3 separate regions of the Homo sapiens genome follow, and regions 1 and 3 are each linked to region 2. Evidence: promoter capture Hi-C in 16 types of primary human blood cells and fetal thymus (Javierre and others, 2016). All regions are on one chromosome and are shown on one strand. The core of a region is centred on a gene start or on the middle of the fragment in contact, and the rest is flanking DNA. Distances in the headings are between cores, read along the strand shown. Region 1 overlaps FANCM (FA complementation group M). Region 2 holds the start of PRPF39 (pre-mRNA processing factor 39). Region 3 overlaps TOGARAM1 (TOG array regulator of axonemal microtubules 1).

Evidence for each region. The method cuts DNA at HindIII sites, captures the fragments that hold promoters and counts their contacts. A CHiCAGO score of 5 or more calls a contact.
Region 1: a contact is called between a fragment that was not itself captured here and the fragment with the promoter of PRPF39 in region 2, in 12 of 17 cell types (activated CD4 T cells, non-activated CD4 T cells, monocytes and 9 more). The highest score is 17.7, in activated CD4 T cells.
Region 3: a fragment that was not itself captured here is called in contact with the fragment with the promoter of PRPF39 in region 2 in 1 of 17 cell types (activated CD4 T cells); the score reaches 5.0 in activated CD4 T cells.

Annotation. Positions count from the first base shown.
Region 1 is chr14:45,137,488-45,140,187 of GRCh38, reverse strand. All of the region lies in intron 2 of FANCM (FA complementation group M), which reads right to left. Among named protein-coding and RNA genes, the nearest start is that of FANCM, 2.9 kb to the right of the region's middle. The HindIII fragment of the contact is 3,673 bases long and covers 1-2,700 here.
Region 2 is chr14:45,082,794-45,085,552 of GRCh38, reverse strand. PRPF39 (pre-mRNA processing factor 39) reads right to left here and starts at 1,437. Exons shown (of 14, transcript NM_017922.4): 1 at 1,304-1,437. PRPF39-DT (PRPF39 divergent transcript) reads left to right here and starts at 1,527. Exons shown (of 2, transcript NR_184211.1): 1 at 1,527-2,081; 2 at 2,166-2,505. RefSeq lists a silencer at 1,443-1,732. The HindIII fragment of the contact is 5,294 bases long and covers 1-1,759 here.
Region 3 is chr14:45,034,104-45,036,803 of GRCh38, reverse strand. All of the region lies in intron 11 of TOGARAM1 (TOG array regulator of axonemal microtubules 1), which reads right to left. Among named protein-coding and RNA genes, the nearest start is that of PRPF39-DT, 49 kb to the left of the region's middle. The HindIII fragment of the contact is 6,169 bases long and covers 1-2,700 here.

The DNA.
Region 1 (2,700 bases), core at 24-2,523, 55 kb before region 2:
AGTTCAGTTTCCATTGTCTGGGCCACAGTTCAGCCTTACGGCTATACCCATATGCACACTTGACAGATTAAGAGAAATCTTAACAGATAAAACTGCACAGAATTTTAAATAGCAATACGAAATTATATTTGAAATTTTGGGAAAGATTTTTTTTTAAGTTACATTTTATGTGGAAAGCTCACAAAAAATTTTTTTTTTAGAAACAGGGTCTTACTCTGTCACCCAGGCTGGAGCACAGTGATGCCATCCATCATAGCTCACTGTAGCCTCAACCTCTGGGGCTCAAGTGATCCTCCTGCCTTGGCCTCCCAAGCAGCTGGGGCTACAGGTATGCGCCAGCATACCTGTAATGTAGTGAAAGCTAATTTTTTCACTTTCTGTAGAGGCAGAGTCACCCTGCCCAGGCCAGTCTTGAACTCCTGGCCTCAAGTGATCCCTGGCATTGGCCTTCCAAAGTGCTGGAATTACAGGTTCAAGCCACTGCGCCCAGCTCACAATATATAAATTAAGTGTATTCATTAAAAAATATAGTCATTTGAGGTAATCTTTAAAATCTAAATTTCCTTTTAAATCCTAAAACATTTCCTCGGTAGCACCAAACCACCATCTGCACTTTCTGGTTTGAACTCGACACCCATTCTAGTATGATTAATACTGGGATAATTTGCCAGATTCCCATATACCACTTCATTTCCCAATACAGAGGAAAATGCACTTCCAAGTAGACTGATTTGCAGGAACAGCTCTCAGTATACCATAGTTCCCAAATTAAACACAGGATTAAACAATAAAACCAGATTATCCAAAAATCACTCCAATTTCAACCCAAGACAAAAACAAATCCAATGAGACTAACACTGAATCTTGATTAATACTGAAAAAATATTTATCGAGCTTTTAAAAATATGGTACAGATTGCATATGAAGACATAACATTATACTTATTATTCTTCAGAAACAAGTAAAATTATAATTAAAAACTGATGCAAGATAAAATATCCCTAGTGACCATTTTCAGTTTAGCTTAATGCTAGAAGTGATGGTCCTTACATATAATAGAAGGATTTTTGAAAAGTCATGAGTGCAGTAAGGAAGACAAAAAGATTGCTTACTGGATTGATGCTTTTAAAAATGTTTTGTATGATAGCCAAAATTCAAAGTGTTCTTTCAGATTGTGAGGCAGTTTTGAGTGAAATCATTTTGTTGTTATATGGCACATGTATCAATATGCCTTCCAGAACTATTACATATGAAAAGTAAGCCAAATACATTACTTCTTTTCACGAAGAATTCTCAAGCATCTTGTAGAAGAGGAAATGGTGGTGTGTGCCTCATGGAGCAGGTGTACCTATTGGAATGTATATCTGGAATATTCAATGCGGTGTAAGCTGTCAGGGCTGTCTGGTTATTAATGAAGTCAATGCATGTTTCATTATATTCATAAAGCCTTGCTGTTAAAAAAAAATCTAATGCCTAGAAATGTTTTGAAAATAAAATAATTACCAGCTAAATCTTCAAAACGTATTCCATACAGTTTGAATTTTAAAAAATTTTTAAGTGTTTTATTATTTCATTTCATTTTTGTAGACACAGGGTCTCACTATGTTGCCCAAGCTGATCTCAAACTCCTGGCCTCAAGCTAAAATTTTTTAAATGCCCCTCTCAGATGGAAATTTTTAACATGCTATGTATTAATTTAATTTGGAATGATATCAATAAGTGGAAAAATATATTATATTCATTTCCTGAATATAATTAGGAAGATCAATTATTAAAAAAGATGACAATTATCCCTAATACAGAGATATAATACAATAACGTTTACAGTCCCCAAAGAAATGACTATACAAATTCAAAAACTGGCAGAGAAATTCATGTCTTTGCCCTAAATGAAATTAACTTTCCCTACCTTTCCCTCTTTTATTCTTGCTCTATAATCTCCTCCTATCATCACCAACTACTATAGTTTTAACTACCATCTATATGTTTATAATTTCCAAATCTGTATCTCTATCTACCTCAGAACTCTCCAGCAAGATCCATACTTCTATCAAGTATCGCCTAATGAATATCTACAGCTGAATTCCTCATAGACACCTCAAACTCAACACATCTAAATCATCTTTCCACGTTCCCCCTAAACCTGCTCTCCACCCAGAACTCACAATCTTCACAGTTTTCCAAGTCAGAAATCTGGAAGTCATCCTACATCCCTTCTACCCCTCATTAGATACTCTGTCTTTAGCCTTCTTCTCTCTAATCTCTTTCAAATCTTAAGTGTTATCCCAGCCAAACATTTTTTAATGAGTCCCCACCACCTTTATCCCCTATGGCCTACAAAGGCTTTCAAACTATTAAGCATAAAATATTAATGACCTGGACCTTGAGTAGAAGAGGCAAAATCCCCCTTAGGAGAAGAGGGAAACAGAAAGTCAACTTCATTCAGTGCAAAGATATGAATGATGTTTGCAACCACATCCCACTACTTCATCTTATTTTATATTCCTGGAGTACTCAACTGGAAGGCACTGTGTTAGGTATGTGGCATACATTATGTCATTATTTTACCTAGCCGCCAAGAAGAGACACCGCATATCCACTACCAATCTTTATTAATTTCAAAACTCCTTTCATACCCTATTTTAGATCACTGTCCCAACCATGACTAGGCTCTCATGATCTACATCTGACACTAATTAT
Region 2 (2,759 bases), core at 188-2,687:
ACCTTCTTCCTCCTTCGGCTATTTTTAATTTTTTTTGAAGTCCTATCTTCCATGTAGATTTGTTAAAACATACCACAGAAAACAGCACATACAATTTTTATCATTTGACTTTTAAACATCTTCTTTCTTATTCAATTATAAGCAAGGAAAAATATTCTGAGACTTTACACAAATAGTGTCTCATACCACCTATGAGCCATCTATGCTCAACCCCTACTTCAAAGTTCACAATCTAAGTACTAGTCCTCTTTAACAGAACTCCTTTCCATCACTTTATCCCTACTAGAGAGTGAACAGTGGAAAGTTCCAACTTTTGCAACTCTAGAATGAGGTTATAAATCTAGAGGGAGGAGGAAAACCTGACAGTAGACGCTTGTTCTTTTCACTCCATTCAAGCTCCCATACAGCCTAAAACACTTAAGTTTCAACATGAGCTTCATACGTCCCTGTCCAAAACTTGCTTTCTCAAGCCTCACGCTTTCCAGCTGTAGCAAAGTTTATTTCTGAACAGATTAAATCAGTTGCTAAATAATCTGAAGTCCTCAAACAGAAGGCCATATGAGTATCAAACGAAAAAAACAACATTTGAATCAGCATAAATTCACATGGTATTATGGCATCATTACTAATACACTGAGCAGTATTATTTATTAACTTCAAGTATTAATTAACTTAAAGATGTGATTTTGGAGAAAAACACCAGTGGTGGTCTCTGATTACCAAAGTTAAACATTCTTAAGCACAATCCCTTAAAAAATCCTGCCAGGATCAATGATGTGTTTTTTCTGTTTTAAAGTATCCTGCCAAAAGCTGTGGGTGCTGTGACTTAGGGTCGCAAAAGTGTTGCTTATGTAGTCAGAAGACAGAACGTGCCCTACAAGGCGCTCACATGCCTTAGTAATAGAACGTATATTATCTTCCCAATCCTCTGGCGGCTGCAAATGTGCTCCTTCCACTTCCAGCCACCCCAGCCGTGTTCCAGCTCCGGGAGAAGCAAGGGCTTTAGAATTACCCCCAAATATCTTCCTAAATCCAGGCGAAGGAGGCCCACACTTCTCCACCCTACCTAACGCACCCCTCAAGTGAAACGTTTGGTCTAAGAAAAAAATACCTTGCACCGCTCCACCCAACAGGTGGGAAGGAGAAAGGAATGGACAGCTGAGCGCTGAATCCGAGCCAGGCCTCAAACAGGGCGGGAGAGGGAGGCCGCGGCCAGAGCGCGGCCTGAAACCCGGCAGGCCCCTTTCAGTACCAAGTACCACCCTCTGCCCCAGCTAATTTCAAGGAGCCCGCCCCAGCAGACCTTATGATGGATGCCACTTGATGCCATGAGCCGGAGCCTGTGACGACCTAGCCGAAGATGGCACTTCACCGCCTCCGTCCCCACAGCCAGCACAGCAGCCGCCACCCGCGCCACGGCCGCCTGGTCCAGGGCACGATGCGCATGCGTCAGTGTCCCTGGAGGCGAAAAAGTCACGTGGGTTCGCAGCGCGCAGGCCTGGCCCTCCCAGGGATCCTCGCTGCCCGTGCGGCCCCAGCCCCGCCCCCGCAGCCCCGCCCCGCCCCGCCGCGAGCGAGGGCGGGGACCGCTGCGCCTACCTGCCTTTCCCTCCATAGGGACTTCCCAAAGGAAAGGAGGGCGTTTAGGGGCTTTCACACGCCTGATCTTAAACACAGCGCCCTGACCCCTCCCCACCAAAAACGGCAAAATGTCATTTTTGGGGGCAAATCTAAGGTTTTCCCTACAATTGTTCAAGCTTTCACACTAAAACATTTACCTAAAAACGGGCAGAAATTCAGCCTTAAACCCACAAATCTCACGATGGTATAGACCCTGGGCCCACTCAGGTTTCCTGAAAACTAAACAGTTCTGGAGTTAGGGGTTTGGAGAACGGGCTATTGTTAAAGAAAAAAGTATTTAGTGACACTTGTTAAAGCACAAAAAGAGGGCTTTATTCAGGACCATCGCAACAGGTATAGGGACCACTGACTGCAATGGAGACTTGCAGTAGGGAAAGAGATATTGGGCTCAACTCCTCATACAGCATGGGCAAGTGGAGATTTATAGCCAAGGAGCGGTGGTAAGTGAATGTATAATTACTAAGAGGAAACATCAGGGTAAGGGGGATTTTGGCTAAACCCACCTAATAGGATTTTTGCTGAAGACAGGCCAAGATAATGAGGCATCACCTGGGGGATGGTGGAGACTGAAGAACCTGATCAGATATTGAGGATGATCAGCTATCAAGGATGGGGGTTTATTGCTAATCTGACTTAGCAAAGTTCTTTGCTTAAACTGGATTTTACAAAGAAAGTGTACAGAAGAGCCTAGCAGAAGATTCAGAAACCTGACTAAAGTTGGCCAAGCAAAAAAAAAAATCTTTGTATCTGAAGGGATATGTTATCCTCTGGACAAATTGAGGGGGACTGTGCGTTAACAATCTTAGCAGTCCTCTTCAGTTGTACCACCATCTCCACTTTAATAAAAAAAAATTTTCTTTCAAATCTGGCCTCTCTCCCTTTAAGATTCTGTTACATTGGTGCCCCCGCATTCACCTGTCACTTACCATGTAATCTGTTGTTCCAGGTGCATTAGTATTACTACTGGGCTCCAAGTTCCTCATCTGAAATCTGTCTCCTCTGGAAATACTTATTTACAAGACGACGTTTCTTGTCACAACGCAGGTTAATCATAAATCCTCTCACCAGCACCTTTCGTTCGAAATACCAAATTCAGTCTTTTTTCCTACCTTTTACTT
Region 3 (2,700 bases), core at 52-2,551, 49 kb after region 2:
AAAACCACAGTTGCACATCTACAAGGAAGACAATTCTTCCAAACAATGAGCTTCTAAGAAAATTGAAAGAAGAGATCACATCCCTGGCTGATACTTTGATTTCAGCCTAGTGGTATTTTGAGCAAAGAGCTGAGTTAACTTATATCTGATCTCTTGACCCAGAAAACTGAGAGTTAATCAATTTGTGTGGTTTGAATCCACTGAGTTTGTGGCAATTTGTTACATAACAATATAAAATAAATACTCTCATTAATATTCTTTGCTTTGAAATATACTTTGATATTAATATGGCCATGTAATCTATCTTTTGATTAGTGTTAGCATGGTATACATCTTTTTGAATCTCTACTTTTAACTTATTTGTATCTATATATTTAAACAGAATTTCTTATAGGTAGCATATAGTTGGGTCTTGCTTTTTAATCTAATCTCACTAGGGTGTTTAGTTCATCTACATTTAATGTGATTAGATGATTGGGTTTAAGTCTATCATCTTGCTGTTTGTTTTCTATTTGTCCCATCTTTTCTTTATAATTATTTTTATAGTTATATTTTATCTCCTTTGTTGCCTTGGTAAAGCAATACTGCCATGTCTTCCCTTTGGGCCTTTGTATCAAACTGTCAGACATTTTGCTTCTTTTAAAACTTTTTTTTTTTTTTTTTTTTTTTTTTTAGAGACAAGGTCTTGTTCTGTTGCTCAGGCTGCAGTGTAGTGGCACAATCACAGCTCACTGCAGCCTCGAACCCCTGGATTCAGGCAATCCTTCTGCCTCAGCCTCCTGATTAGCTGGGACTACAGAAACACATCACTGCATCCAGATTTTAAATTTTTTTTCTTTCTTTTTTTTTTTTTTTCTAGAGATGAGGTCTTGCTATATTGCAAAGGCTGGTCTTTAACTTCTGGGCTCAAGCAATCTTCCTGGCTTGGCCTCATAAAGTGCTGGGATTACAAGTGTGAGCCACCATGCCTGGCCCACTACTTTTATTTTTGAAAGATATTTTCATTGGATATAGAATTCTAGATTGACAGTTTGTTTTTCCTTTCAGTACTTTAAAGATCTCACTGAACTGTTTTTTGGTTTGCAGTGTATTTGATGAGTAGTCTGATCTTTGTTCTATATGTAATGTCTTGCCCCTAGCTATTTTTAAGATTTTCTCCATCCCTAATTTTAGGCCTTTTGATTATATCTCCTTTGAAATATTTCTTTTCATGTTTCTTGTGTTTGGTGTTCACTGAACTTCTTAGATCTTTGGGTTTATAGTTTTCATCCAATTTGAACAAATTTTGTCCATTTTTTTCTACAAATATTCTTTTCTGTCTCCTTCTCTGTCTGGTAACTCCAATTACACATAACTTGAAGTTGTCCCACAATTGACAGATTTTTTGGACTTTTTTTTCAGTCTTGTTTCTCTCATTGTTTCATTTTGATTTTTTTTTTTTACTTGAGACAGAGTCTCACCCTGTTGCCCAGGCTGGGTGCAGTGGTACGATCTCAGCTCACTGCAACCTCCGCCTCCCGGGTTTAAGCGATTCTCCTGCCCCAGTCGCCCCAGTAGCTGGGACTACAGGTGTGCATCACCACACCCAGCTAATTTTTGTATTTTTGGTAGACACAGGATTTTGCCTTATTGGTCAGGCTTCATTGTTTCATTTTGAATAGTTTCAATGGTTACGTCTTCAACTTCACTAATCTTTTCTTCTGGAATGTCTAACCTATTAATCTCATCCAGTGTATTTCCTATCTCAGACATTATAGCTTTCATCTGTAGATATTAGTTTTGGGTTTCTTATATATATTATATCTCTTTACTTGCTCAACCTTTCCTCCAGCCTCTTTAATGCATGCAGTAGTTACAGTTACAATGTCTTTGTCTACTAATTCTATCACCTGTGTCATTTTTGCATTGGTTTCACTTGGCTTTTTTTCTTCTCACTATTGGTTATATTTTCCTGCTTCTCTGCATGCCTGGTAATTTCACTTTAGCTATTTTTGTATTCCTATAAATATTCTTCAGCTTTGTTCTGGGATATAGTTATTTGAAAATGTATTTCAAATAAGGATCAAATGTTTGATCATCTTAGGCCTTGCTTTTAAACTTCATTGGGTAGGAACCAAACTAACATTCAGTCTATGGTTTATTTTACTACACTATGGAGCAAAACTCTGAGTATTCTACCCAATGCCCTGTGAATTATGAACTTTTCCACTCTGCTGGTGGGAACAGGAAGTATTATTAACATTGTATATGCTCCTGACATTGTTCCTTGTAACTTTTTTGAGTGGTTCTTGTTCTGGCCTCAGGAAATGTATTTACATGCATGCCCCGACCAGTTGTCTGCTAAACATTTGAGTAAAATCCTCTTATGATCTCTGGAGCTCTCTGTGGAGCTCTATCTGGCATTCTGTCCTGCAAAGTCTAGTCACCATGGCCTCCTCAAACTCTCAGCACCATGTCCATCTCTGATGCTATCTGCCTGTTTTCCCTCCCTTTAGCTGCAACCTGGAAACTCTCTCCAGAAAGCAAGCTGGGTAATTGTAGGGCTCACCTGGTTTGTTTCCTGTCTCTCAGAGATCAACATCTTTCCATAGCCTGGTGAACAGTGTCTTGAAAACTATTGTTTTTTTGTTGTTGTTTCTTTGTTTTTGAGATGGAGTCTCACTCTGTCACCCAGGCTGGAGTGCAGTGACATGATCTCGG